Regions from separate parts of the Homo sapiens genome. Here region 1 is linked to region 2. The links are contacts of gene promoters, found by promoter capture Hi-C in human tissues and cell types (Jung and others, 2019). All regions are on one chromosome and are shown on one strand. The core of a region is centred on a gene start or on the middle of the fragment in contact, and the rest is flanking DNA. Distances in the headings are between cores, read along the strand shown.

Region 1 (5,383 bases), core at 2,742-5,241, 320 kb before region 2:
GCTCCTGCCCCTCCGCCTGCGGCTGGGCAGACCCTCTGGCCTCCCTCTTGACCTCATTGCCCGTCTCCATTGCTCTGCACACTTGATCTGTGTACGGTTCTTTCCAGAAGCTTCTCCTGCCCCGGCTCTGCCGCCCTGTCCCGGGGTGAGATTCCCACCCTGGGCTTTGCTCAAGTTCTCCTGGGCTTTCCCGCCTTGCAGTCCTTACAGGCCCTGTTCTGGGCCTCTCCCCAGGCCCCCGGGTCTCCCAAAACACTCAACTCCTCGGCTTGCAGAGCACCCTAGGTCAGCGGACCCCAAATCCTGCCTCCCTCTTCCCTTTCTCCAAGCTCCACACGGGAATTGCCAGATCGCCTGAAGGCAGCCCAGACAGGCTCCCCTCAAAACAAGGTTCAGGTGACCCTGCCTGCCCAAGCCTGTGTCCCCTCCCTCTCCCTGTCCTGTTGTTGTCACCTGTGTCAGCGGTGTCCCCTGCTGCCTGAGGTGAGCCCTAGCCCTAGATGGGACACTGCAGGCTGACACCTCCCCGTGTCCGCCCCCGCCCCTGTCCCAGGCCTCTACTTTCTCCACATCCTTGGTCTGTGCAGCAATGCCTTCTGACTTTCCTCCAAAGGAGGGGACAAGAGGAGGCCTTGGTTCCCTCCTGTAACTCACCTTCCCCTCCACACCTCACCATCCACCTTAAAAGCCTCCCTGTACTGCCTTCTGCCAGAGGAAGGATGTGAACAGCACGCAGGGCCTATCTGAGCCCCGCGGAGCAGCAAATGGGGAGAATGGTGCTCTTCTCCCCATGCCAAGGAAAGCTGACTTAGTTCTCAGTCCCAGAGTCGAATACAGCTTCCTCCTCCTGCAGACGCTTGTTTATCGGGGTCACTCAGAGGACCCCCAGAGTCAGGCTTTAAGAAACAGACACGGGGATGACAGAGCCGCCTGAGGCCGCGTGCGGATCGGTCCAGGCTGTTCACCACAGAGCCTGCTGGTCTCTGTGCGGCCCTCTCATCCTCTCCCTGCCCATGGAGTGGCCTGACCTGCCTGAGGGTCGGCTGATTTCCTCAACCCTTTGCAACCCTGAGCTCTGCCACTCAGAGGGCACCTCATCTTTGTGTGCTACGGGCCCAAAACAAAGGCAGAACTGGTCAATGAGAACATTTATCTGTGTTGCTTTGGAATATTGAAAATCTATTTGTCAAGAAGAGTTTGACCCCTAATTAGAAAACAAACTCATTTTCGCCATCAATTTTACGGCCCTGTTCAGCTGTAGCTAGACGAGTTGTTTGTCAAAATACTTAAAAATGTGCCTTTGATTTCTAGGATCTGCTAGAAATGCAGCAAAAGCAATGTTTTTGCACCAGCTGCTGCTGAACGCAGTGTGGCCGTGGCTGAGGGTGCATCAGTGACATGAGGCGACCTATGATTCCTCTATAAATTTAGCACCAAGAACGGCATCTCTGGAAATACGCGTTAATTCTCCTTTGTCTGGCCTTGTAGATGGCACAGTCCACCCAGGCCAACCAGCTGGAAACACAGAGGCGTCCTCACCCTCGTCCCCATCTCTCATTTCCATTTCCTTTCCTGCACAGCCCCAAATCCAGCCCTCCTCTTCACCCCACGCCTCTTGGTTTACAGCCTTCATCGTTTCTTCCCTGGAATTCTGGGATCTCTGTGCTTGCAATCACAGTTCCTCCATTTTCGCACCACGAAACACACCCACACACACACGGGAACGCACACACGCTCCTGCACCCCCCACCCCCATCCTGTCTCCCTCTGTGACCCTCTCGCTCCCTCTGTCTCTCTCCTTCTCTCTCTCTGGCTCCAGTCCATCTTGCACACAGCTGCCAGAGTGAAAATAAAAATCAGATTCAGTCACAACTTAAACTCTTCAGCGTCCCCCATGCTTTCAGGGACATGAGGACCCAGCTCCTGTTGTCTGCCAGGGAGTCACCCAGTTTGATGCCAGCTCAGTGCCAGCTCAGATGCCAGCTCCTCTGGACCCAGGCGCAACCCCTGCAACAGGGCAGGTTCTGGGCCTCTCCCCCACTTCAGGAGCCACACCTCCCTTTCTCCCACCCACCCTGTGCAAACCCTCACATTCCCTTTGACCCTGGTGTGAGCGGCCAAGCTCTTACCTCAGCTGGGTGGAGAATCGCTCCCTCTGCTCTGGTGTCTGTCCCTGGGCTCTATTTCACAGTCGAGTTGCGTGTGTGTGTTGGCTACAGGCAGCCCTGTGTCCTTCTTTGGGTGTGGGGAGGGCGTGCATGACAGTCACACCCAGAGGCTTTCCTCTCTGATCTGCAAACAGATGCCGTTGGCAACCACAGGTCATTCAGCGACAAGAATGGCCTCACCAGCAAGCGGGAGCTGCGGCCCGAAGATGACATGAAACCAGGTGAGAGGACTCCTATCCCGGGCCCCGGGGCACCTCACTTCCACCAGCTCCCAGGTGCATGCAGGGGACAGCTGTGGGTGTCGGGGCTGTCCACAGCTGCAGCCCAAGCCTGGCCATGACTTGACTAAGACGATGTGGCCTCGCCACACCTGTCAGCAGCTGCAAACAGAACGTGCAAACCCGAGACAGCAAGGGGTCCTTCTAGGCTGGGAGGCTGCCCAGGCACCAGGGCCTCCAGAAGAGCGGGACTGGGCACGATGGCTCCTGCCTGTAATCCCAGCACTCTGGGAGGCTGATGCGGGTGGATCACCTGAGGTCTGGAGTTCAAGACCAGCCTGGCCAACATGGCAAAACCCTGTCTCTACCAAAAATATAAAAATTAGCCAGGCGTGGTGGTGGGTGCCTGTCATCCCAGCTACTTGGGAGGCAGAGGCTCGAGAATCACTTGAACCTGGGAGGCGGAGGTTGCAGTGAGCCAAGATCATGACACTGCATTCCAGCCTAGGCAACAGAGTGAGACTCCATCTCAATTAAAAAGAAGAAGAAGAAGAAAAGCGAGGCCTCGAACTGGATATCTCCCCAACTCCCTCACATTGAACAAGGGCCTTGGAAAGCACAGCAGGGCCTCAGGCTGCTGGGATCAGATCATTGACCTTGCAGCGCCCAGCTCCTCTGTAGGGAGGGGGATGACCTGAGACACTGAAGCACCCTCTGCACAAGTCGTGAATGTTGATCTTTTCTCTTCTAGGAAGCTTTGACAGGTCCATACCTGAAAACAATATCATGCGCACAATCATTGAGTTTCTGTCTTTCTTGCATCTCAAAGGTATGTGAAATATCATCAACTTAACATTCATCTCTTAGTACACTGGAAACGTAAAAGGCCCATCGAGAAGAGAACCCATAGAATCCCCCTGGGAAGTAGCCGATTACTTATCTACGTACAAAGTCCTGTTTGGCTGTGTGTCGGGATAACAGAGAATGTAACACTAGAGCTAGCTCCAGAGGGCTGGGATTGCGGCAGGGGCATTCTACCGTCGTGGAGGGCCATCGGGCCAGCGCTGGTCCCAGGAAGAGAGTGGGCCTCAGGGTGCAGCTCATTCTACTGGAACCATATCTATTCACACGGTGACAACTGCTGTACCTTTTAGGGCAGAGGTATACTACAGGCCAAGTTCTTTGTGAACCGTCCTAAACCTTTTCTCTTTTCTTTTTTCTCTGTCTTTTCTTTCTCTTCTCTCTTTTCTTTCTTTCTTCTTTCTCTTCCTTCCTTCCTTTTTCTTCCTCCCTCTTTCTCTCTCTCTTTCTTCCTTCCTTCCTTCATCTCACTCTGTCGCCCAGGCTCGAATGTAGTGGTGCAATCTCAGCTCACTGCAGCCTCTGCCTCCTGGGCTCAAGTGATTCTCGTGCCTCTTCTTCCCAGGTAGCTGGGAAAACAGGTGCGCACAATTATGCCTGGCTAATTTTTGTATTTTTAGTAGAGGCTGGGGTTCATCATGTTGGCCAGGCTCATCTTGAACTCCTGGCCTCAAGTGACCTGTCTGCCTCAGTCTCCCAAAGTGCTGGGATTACAGGCGTGAGCCACTGTGCCTGGCCCTAAACCATATTTTCTAAGCATGGGAAATTAATAGAAGCCCATATCTTAGACTGCAGTGTTTCTCTATGCAGCCTTCCTGCCAGGCAGGCTGCCTTGAAATCTAACTGGAAAGGCTCTGATCCTGGCTTCCAGTGTCTTCTGCAAACACTGGGGATGAGGAGACCTCCGCACACTACGCTTGGCATTCATTCTACGATGGGCATCTGGCCTTGATCAGATAACCACACAGGTCCTACTGCAGCAGTGGAGGGAGCCGGAAAGCGGCCCCGGTGCTCTGAGGGTTAACAGGGAGGTGGTGGTGGGGAGGAGGGATGGACCGCTTTGCCTCTCCAGCAGAGAAGACCTTCACCTGGTGCTCTGAGAGTTAAGGGGGAGGCAGTGGTGGGGAGGAGGGATAGACCGCTTTGCCTCTCCAGCAGAGAAGACCTTCACCTGGTGCTCTGAGAGTTAAGGGGGAGGTGGTGGAGGGGAGGAGGGATGGACCACTTAGCCTCTCCAGTGGAGAAGACCTTCACCTGCTGCTCTGAGAGTTAACAGGGAGCTGGTGGTGGGGAGGAGGGATGGACCGTTAGCCTCTCCAGTGGAGACCTTCAGTTGCACATCACAGTTTTGTCCAGTTTTGAAAAATCAAGGCTAATCCTTGGGTTCATTTTGGATCAGGATGTTTTTCATTTGCAGTGTTATCGGGCTGCACTTTAGGTGGCGATGGGGAGAGGGAAGAGGAGTGAGGGGAGGGGAGCGGGGGAAGGAGACTGCCAGAGAAGGTCTTGGAAAAGGCGGTGTTCATTAGAAATCTCAAAACCGAGTCACCAAGTTCCCTCTGTTGGAGCCCAGTGGAGCCTCTGGGAGAAAAGCTGGGGTGACTTTTCCTACAAGGGGCAGAGGGACTCTGCTAGATTTTTGTTTTTCATTTGTTTTTAATTTTGTAACATGGAAACTCTTTCCTTAGGATATACCAGCTCTCATTACTCAGCTAGGAATTATACCTCTTTAAAGCCTGAATTTAAAAGTCTGACAGTTTTAAATGCTTACTAACTGTGGGAGTTAAATCATTACGAAGTGAGGAATACAGAGTGTTGTCCCTGATTCTGGGTTTAATCTGGTAAGAATCTTTACAGAGGACGACCACACGCCGCTTCCTGTAGCATGTGTCGTGGTTGTAATTCTCTCATGTGCATATTAAGAAGTTGCTGCTCAGATGTGGCTCTTCCCTTTGCAGAGGCCGGTGCCCTCGACCGCCTCCTGGATCTCCCCGCCGCAGCCTCCTCAGAAGACATCGAGCGGTCCTGAGAGCCTCCTGGGCATGTTTGTCTGTGTGCTGTAACCTGAAGTCAAACCTTAAGATAATGGATAATCTTCGGCCAATTTATGCAGAGTCAGCCATTCCTGTTCTCTTT
Region 2 (6,277 bases), core at 1,249-3,748:
CTAGGGCTGCCAATGGGAGGCCTGGGGTAGGGGGTGACCCTGCTGGAGGCTGGTCCACCTTGGCCGGCCAGACCTCATGGGTCTGCCTGCCTTGGGTCCTCTGGAATTGATCCCGGTCCCCCAACCTGAGCTTCACCCCTTGGAGGAAGCTTCTCCCCGTGAAGCCCTGTGCCCCTTCCCCGCAGAGAAGCATCTATTATTATTCCCTGCTGTACTGGGGGGGTAAACTGAGGCTGTGAGCGGAGAAGGGCCTTGCTGGGCACAGCCCAGGTCGCAGGCTGCCGGGCCCCTCCTCTCCCAAGGGGAGAGCTGGGCATCCTGCTCAGCTCAACTCCCCGGAAATTCTTTCCTCTGCGCCGCGCGGGTCCGCCCGGCCTCAGCCAGCCACGTGCCCCCGCCCGCCGCGCACTCCTCCCGCCCGGGGGCGGGCCGTACTCCTGGCCTCCGCGCCCACCATTGGCTAGAAGAGGTGGCCGTCTGCGCGTGTGGCCCGCCCCCTCTTTAACCCTGGGCCTCCCGGAGCTGGTGGCGCAAGTGTGGCCCCAGGGGCCGCTCCCAGGACCCTTCCCACCCAGTGGCCTGGCTCCCCTCGGCCCCGCGCTGCCAGACCGCGCCGCTCTGCGCCTTCAAAGGGCGTTTGTGAGCACCTGTGCCTGGCCTACGGCTGACTCAGCCTGGGGTCTTCGGGGTGTCCCAGGGTGGGGGCACCTTGTGTGCCGGAGTGAGCCAGTGCATTGTGATGTGTGTGCAGTGGGCTTGCAGATGGCTGGTGCTGCGACCTGTATCTTAAGTCTCCCTCCTTGGACTCCAGTTGGGCCATTGTCCCGTTGCCACAGACAGGCCGTAACTTCTCCACGCTCTGGGGCCTGTCTGAGCTTTCCTGCCCTGCAACCCCAGACCTATCACCTGCCCTCATCCTTCCGGGCGCCTGGTAAGAGCCCCCCAAGCTCTCTCCATTGCCCCTACTCTTTTTGGTGGCCCTTCTGGACACCCACCACCCCTAGGTCTGGGCCCCCAGCCTTGTTTCCAGAGATGTCCTGACTCACAGGAGCCTCATCCATTCACCCTGGCCAGGCTAGACCCCAGCCACACCAACTAGTGCCCCAAAGGCAGTGGGCTGGGCTCCCCCCTACGCTGCAGGTGGGCATGCAGTGGGGGCCCCCAGCTCCCCTCTCTACCATCTGCGTCCCTCCATTATGTGGGTGTCCCTGTGCATTTGTCCTTGTCCTGCCAGGGACAACCTGAAAAGCGATTTCACGCATGCACAGAAAGATCTAGAAGCCAGCAGACCCCAGATGGGCCATATTAAAGGACATGTGTGTGACACGTGGATGGGGCGTGCGTGTCAGTACATGTGTATGTGTGTTCCTCTGGGTGGGATCTGGGCTGCTATGACAGAACTAGTTTCCACTGAAGCTGACCCAAAAAGCTGCCAGCACAGCTCACACCTGACCCTCCCCTCGGAGCAAGCCCAAGGGTGGCCTGGCCACCTGTCAGCCTCCTGCAGCCTTGCCCGCAGGAAGCTCCTCCTCTCCCTTCACTCCATCCCACCATGACCCAGCCCCGACGCCGCTGGGGCTGTCCCAGCCCCTCTCCTTAGCCGCTTGTGCCGCCATCAGAGGGGCCTGTCTCGCTCCCCCAGACACAGAGCCTCTGTTTTCCTCACTCCGGGTCTGGAGTCCCCTGCTTAACAGCTTGGATTGAAGAGGCTTGTCTGGGGGGACTGAGACCTTGCAGATCATTCCAGGAGCCGCCTCCATCCAAGGCCAACAGCTTCATCAGGCCGCAGGCCTGGGAGAAGGTGGGACTGCAGTTGCCCAACATCCTGTGGCTGCCCACACGGACACCCCATGTGCACCCCAGGGCTGAGAGCAGGGGGAGCCATCTCCCTGTGTGTGGGACACTGCCTGCTGGGTGTTCCGTTCCAGCCCCTCTAGAATGCATGCTTGAATGGCCAGTGAGGCTGGGGGAGGGACCGAGAGGGAGCCCTCACCCCCAGCAGCACAGAGCAGGAGCTGGACGGTGGGGCTGGGGGTGAGGCCAGCTGAGAGGGGTCAGGTCCTGCCACGGGAGGGGGACTTTTAAAGTTCCTCCATGGCCCTGGAACCCTGGAGCCTCAGGAGTGGCAGGGGAGCTTCTCCGGTGAGTGACAGCCTCTCTGGGGTCTCAGGGCTCCCTGCCTGGGGCCTTAGGATTTCTGGGAGCTGCCTGCCCCGACAGCGTCCACCTCTCTGCCCCTACAGTGCCCGCGTCATTTTCCTTCCCTGCCTGGCCCTCACCCTGCAGCCCCGGTTGTTGGAACACCCTCCCCTGGACCCTGGGCCCCTGGAGCTACCTGCAGCTGTCCTGATCCGCCGAGGCCTCCTTTTGTGGAGGGCTCTTCCTGTGACTCCCGCCTCCGGCCGGCGGACCCGCCGGGGCAGCAGGCCAGCGCCGAGCGCGGCCCGGAGCCTTGGAAAATAGGAGCTCAGAGTAGAGCCCTCTCCTGCTGGAAGAGATGGCTTTGGAAGCAGAACCCGCCCCAAACCCAATTCCTGGCCCGGCAGGAGGGGGAGGGGGAGGGGAGTAGGAGGAGGGGCTGAGCAGGGCTGAGCGGGGATGAGGCTTCAGGAAGGAATGCCCCGCTCAGGAGCCCCCCCCAGAGCCCCACCGGGAACTCATCTCTCCGCCTGGTGACGTCACGTTGGCCCGAGCACTGCAGCCCGAGTCCAGCTGTTCATCTCCCTCACATTCTGCTGCTCGGCAGGGCTGCCCAGGAGAGGGAGCACCGGCTGTACACTTGCCTGGCGTCTTTGGTCTGCCCCCAGTGGGCATTTCGGGGCAGGCTGGCCCAGGAGGGGCTAGTCCCCACCCCGTTGTTTTAATTTACTCAGGGGCTGATACAGAGCAGTGGGGGGCAGCAGGGCGAGGGCTCCATGGAGGGGCAGTGCAGAACTGGCAGAGGTGGTCAGCACCGCCCAAGCGGCACCCCTCCCCCTTCCCACCCCGGACTCGGCCTGGGCCCCCTGGGGGCTTATGGAACCAGGAATTCCCTTTTCCCCAGCCCTAATAGCAATCAGATGGCGCAAGTGGAAAATCACGGCGCTCGGCAAGCAAGCTGGAAATTGGCGGGCTGTGGTGCCTGGTGCCTGCGCTGCTCAGCGGGAGGATGAGTCAGGTCCCCCTTCCCCATTGAGCCCCTGGAGGCGGGCGGTGGGGGGGGGTCCTGGAACGCGTTCATGCCTGGGGCACTGAGCATTGGTAGGGGTGGGGGTGCAGAGTCGGGGGTGCGGGAGCCAGCAGGGTGGCCAGGAGGAGGGGGTGATGAGAAGGCTCCCCTCCTACCCTGGGCCAACTTTCTCAGGGTCCAGGAAGCCCGAGGGAATTCTGAACTTTCCCTGCAGGAGTGTAGTGCCCAGACTGGGAGAGATGTGCCTCTGTGGGCATCTTGAAGGGAAATGAGAAGCGGAGCTGCCCCTGCACCTGCGCTGGGAGCTGCCTGCCTCCTGCTTGTCCTGGCCATGTGCGAACCTCAGCGTGGAAGAGGGACTCTCGCACTGCTCCCTGCGCGGCTCAGCTGGCCTCCTGGGGTCCGTTTTTCAGGGATGGGGTGAGGAGGGACTCTGGGATCCTGGAGGCTCACGGGCCATGCCTGAGGCTGAGAGAGAGGCTGGAGGCAGCAGGCAGGGTGGTGACCCGTCCCCTCCTCTCCAGGGCAGCCAGCTGGGGCCCAGCTGGAACGCTTGTTTACATGGGGAGGCCGGGGGAGGCTGAATCCCGGCGAGTTCCAAGTGTAATTGCGTTTGGACACTTAAAAGGAATTGTGTGAAGTGGGCAGAGGCTCTGAAGTCCACCGCCTTATTTGGTATGGAAATCTGTTTCTCTCAAAATAAGCGAGAGGCGCTTGTAAACGGGAAGGTCGTCCTGGCCTGAGTTTGTGGAGTCCCCTTCCCGTGGGCTTGGTGTGTCCGGCTGCTCTGTTGCAGTACCGCAGACCAGGGGCTTATCGGAGCAGGCGTTTGTTTCCCATGGCTCCGGGGGCTGGAAGGCCAAGATCAAGGCCTCCACAGATTCAGCGTCTGGTGAGGACCCAGCCTCTCACTGAGTCCCCATGTGGTGACCCCTTTCAGGCAGGCGAAGGAGCTCAATGGGGCCTCTTTTACTCGGGCATTAATGCCATTATGAGGCCCCACCCTCATAACCTGCTCATCTCCCAAACACCCCACCTCACACAGGAGATTAGATGTCAACACATGAATTCAGGGCAGTGGGGCAGCAGGGCAGGGGGTGGGGCCACAAACATGCAGTCTGTAGCAGCCACCCTGGGGGTCTCTCCCCACCCCCTGGGGGAGTGGTGGGCTGTGTGTGTGGGGTGGTGCCCAGAGGCCCAGTGCAAGGAGTTCCTGTGCTGCCTCCAGGCTTGGGTGACCGTGGACAGTTTCCTTCCCACTGGGGACCTTGGTTTCCTCAGCTGTCAGATGGGAAAAGATAATGACCCACAGGGTTATAGCAAGGAGGGATTGGATGCCGGGAGGAGCCGGGAGAAAGAGCTCTTCATGCACCTCAGCAACGCCGCTCCCTGCTCCAGGTGTCCCGCTGGTGCCAGGCCCTCCCTGCAAGGCTCAGGGCTCTGGCTGATGCTGAGAATGGGGCATGGTCCCTGCTCGTCCAGCCTTCACTTTCTAAACAGCCACCACTTGCCGTCAGGAGTCCTCCCCTGCCCCTCCCAGTAGAACTTTGTTTTTAATCATCCCTTGCCAAGGGCCTCATGGTCCTACGCCTCTCCCCATGTCCCCTCCTGAGGGTGCAGGCCTGGACCCTCCTCTGTTGGGGGGATCCTTGGGGGAAGGAGGTCGGTTCTGGACAGAGATGTCTCCCTGCCAGGTGCTTCTGTGGCCTATGGTTGCCCTGCTGCTCCCTGGACGAGGGGGTGGGTGTGGACCAGCCCTCGTGGCCCCTCTGCAGCCAGCACCATCCTCAGTAAAGACTACAGGTATTTCCTGAGCACCTGCAGGGTGCCAGGCACTGTGCTCTGTGCTGATGAATAGGACAGGCAAGGTCCCTGCTCTCCGGGAGCTGATGTCCAACAGAGAGGCAGACCAGGTCAAAGGAAACACAGTAAAATGCACCTGCGATGAAGAAGGTGTGCAGGGCCATTCGGCTGGTGTGGTGGCTCACGCCTGTAATCCTAGCACTTTGGGAGGCTGAGGCAGGTGGATTGACTGAGCTCAGGCGTTCCAGACCAGCCTGGCCAACATCGTGAAACTCCATTTATACTAAAAATACAAAAAATTAGCTGGGCATGGTGGCACACACCTGTAGTCCCAGCTACTTGGGAGGCTGAGACATAAGAATCACTTGAACCCAGGAGGTGGAGGTTGCAGTGAGCTGAGATCACGCCACTGCAGCACCCCAGCCTGGGTGAGACAGCGAGACTCTGTCTAAAGAAAAAAGGTTGAACCAAGGCCTAGCTGTCTTTCCTAATAGTGAAAGGGACCCCTCTCCTTCTGCTCTGTTCCCCTCCTCCACTAGGCTGGGCCTTTCTGTGCTGGAAGGTGCATCTTGGGAATCTCAGCAAAAGTCCACATTATCCTCTGTCCTGCATGTGGTAGACCATTCATTTGTTAATTTGTCCATCTTTCCATCTATCCACTTACTCATCTACCCACTCAACTACCCATCTACTTGCTCATCCATCCATCCATCCATCCATCCTCCCATCCATCCATCCACCCACCAGACCATCCATCCATCCATCCATTCACCCACCAAACCATCTATCCATCCATCCATCCAAGTACAAGACCATCCATCCATCCATCCATCCATCCACCCACCAAACCATCCATCCATCCATCCATCCATCCACCCACCCACCAGACCGTCCATCCATCCATCTATCCATCCATCCATCCATCCATCCATCCATCCATCCATCCACCAAACCATCCATCCACCCACCAAACCATCTATCCATCCATCTATCCATCCATCCATCCATCCATCCATCCATCCATCCATCCATCCACCAAACCATCCATCCACCCACCCACCAGACCATCCATCCATCCATCTATCCATCCATCCATCCATCCATCCATCCATCCATCCATCCATCCACCAAACCATCCATCCATCCATCCATCCATCCATCCATCCATCATCCATCCATCCACCCACCCATCCATCCATCAATCCGTCTATCCATCCATTCATCTATCAATCCATCCATTCATCCATCTAGCCATCCACCCACCCACTCACCCATCCACCCATCCATTCATTCTTACCTTAATTC

The links. Contacts are between HindIII fragments. The study calls those that stand out against the background at their distance.
Region 1: a fragment that was not itself captured here is called in contact with the fragment with the promoter of MRGPRF in region 2 in 1 of the 25 tissues and cell types used here (H1 embryonic stem cells).

Annotation. Positions count from the first base shown.
Region 1 is chr11:68,685,712-68,691,094 of GRCh38, forward strand. It overlaps GAL (galanin and GMAP prepropeptide), which reads left to right. Exons shown (of 6, transcript NM_015973.5): 4 at 2,303-2,389; 5 at 3,138-3,215; 6 at 5,206-5,383. The coding sequence ends at 5,276. LOC107984343 (a long non-coding RNA gene) reads right to left here and starts at 3,147. Exons shown (of 3, transcript XR_001748281.1): 1 at 3,081-3,147; 2 at 2,130-2,292. The HindIII fragment of the contact is 4,733 bases long and covers 1,626-5,383 here.
Region 2 is chr11:69,010,748-69,017,024 of GRCh38, forward strand. It overlaps MRGPRF (MAS related GPR family member F), which reads right to left and starts at 2,499. Exons shown (of 3, transcript NM_145015.5): 1 at 2,336-2,499. MRGPRF-AS1 (MRGPRF antisense RNA 1) reads left to right here and starts at 1,607. Exons shown (of 6, transcript NR_120541.1): 1 at 1,607-1,801; 2 at 3,044-3,157; 3 at 3,384-3,569; 4 at 3,694-3,844; 5 at 4,864-4,972. The HindIII fragment of the contact is 18,072 bases long and covers 1-6,277 here.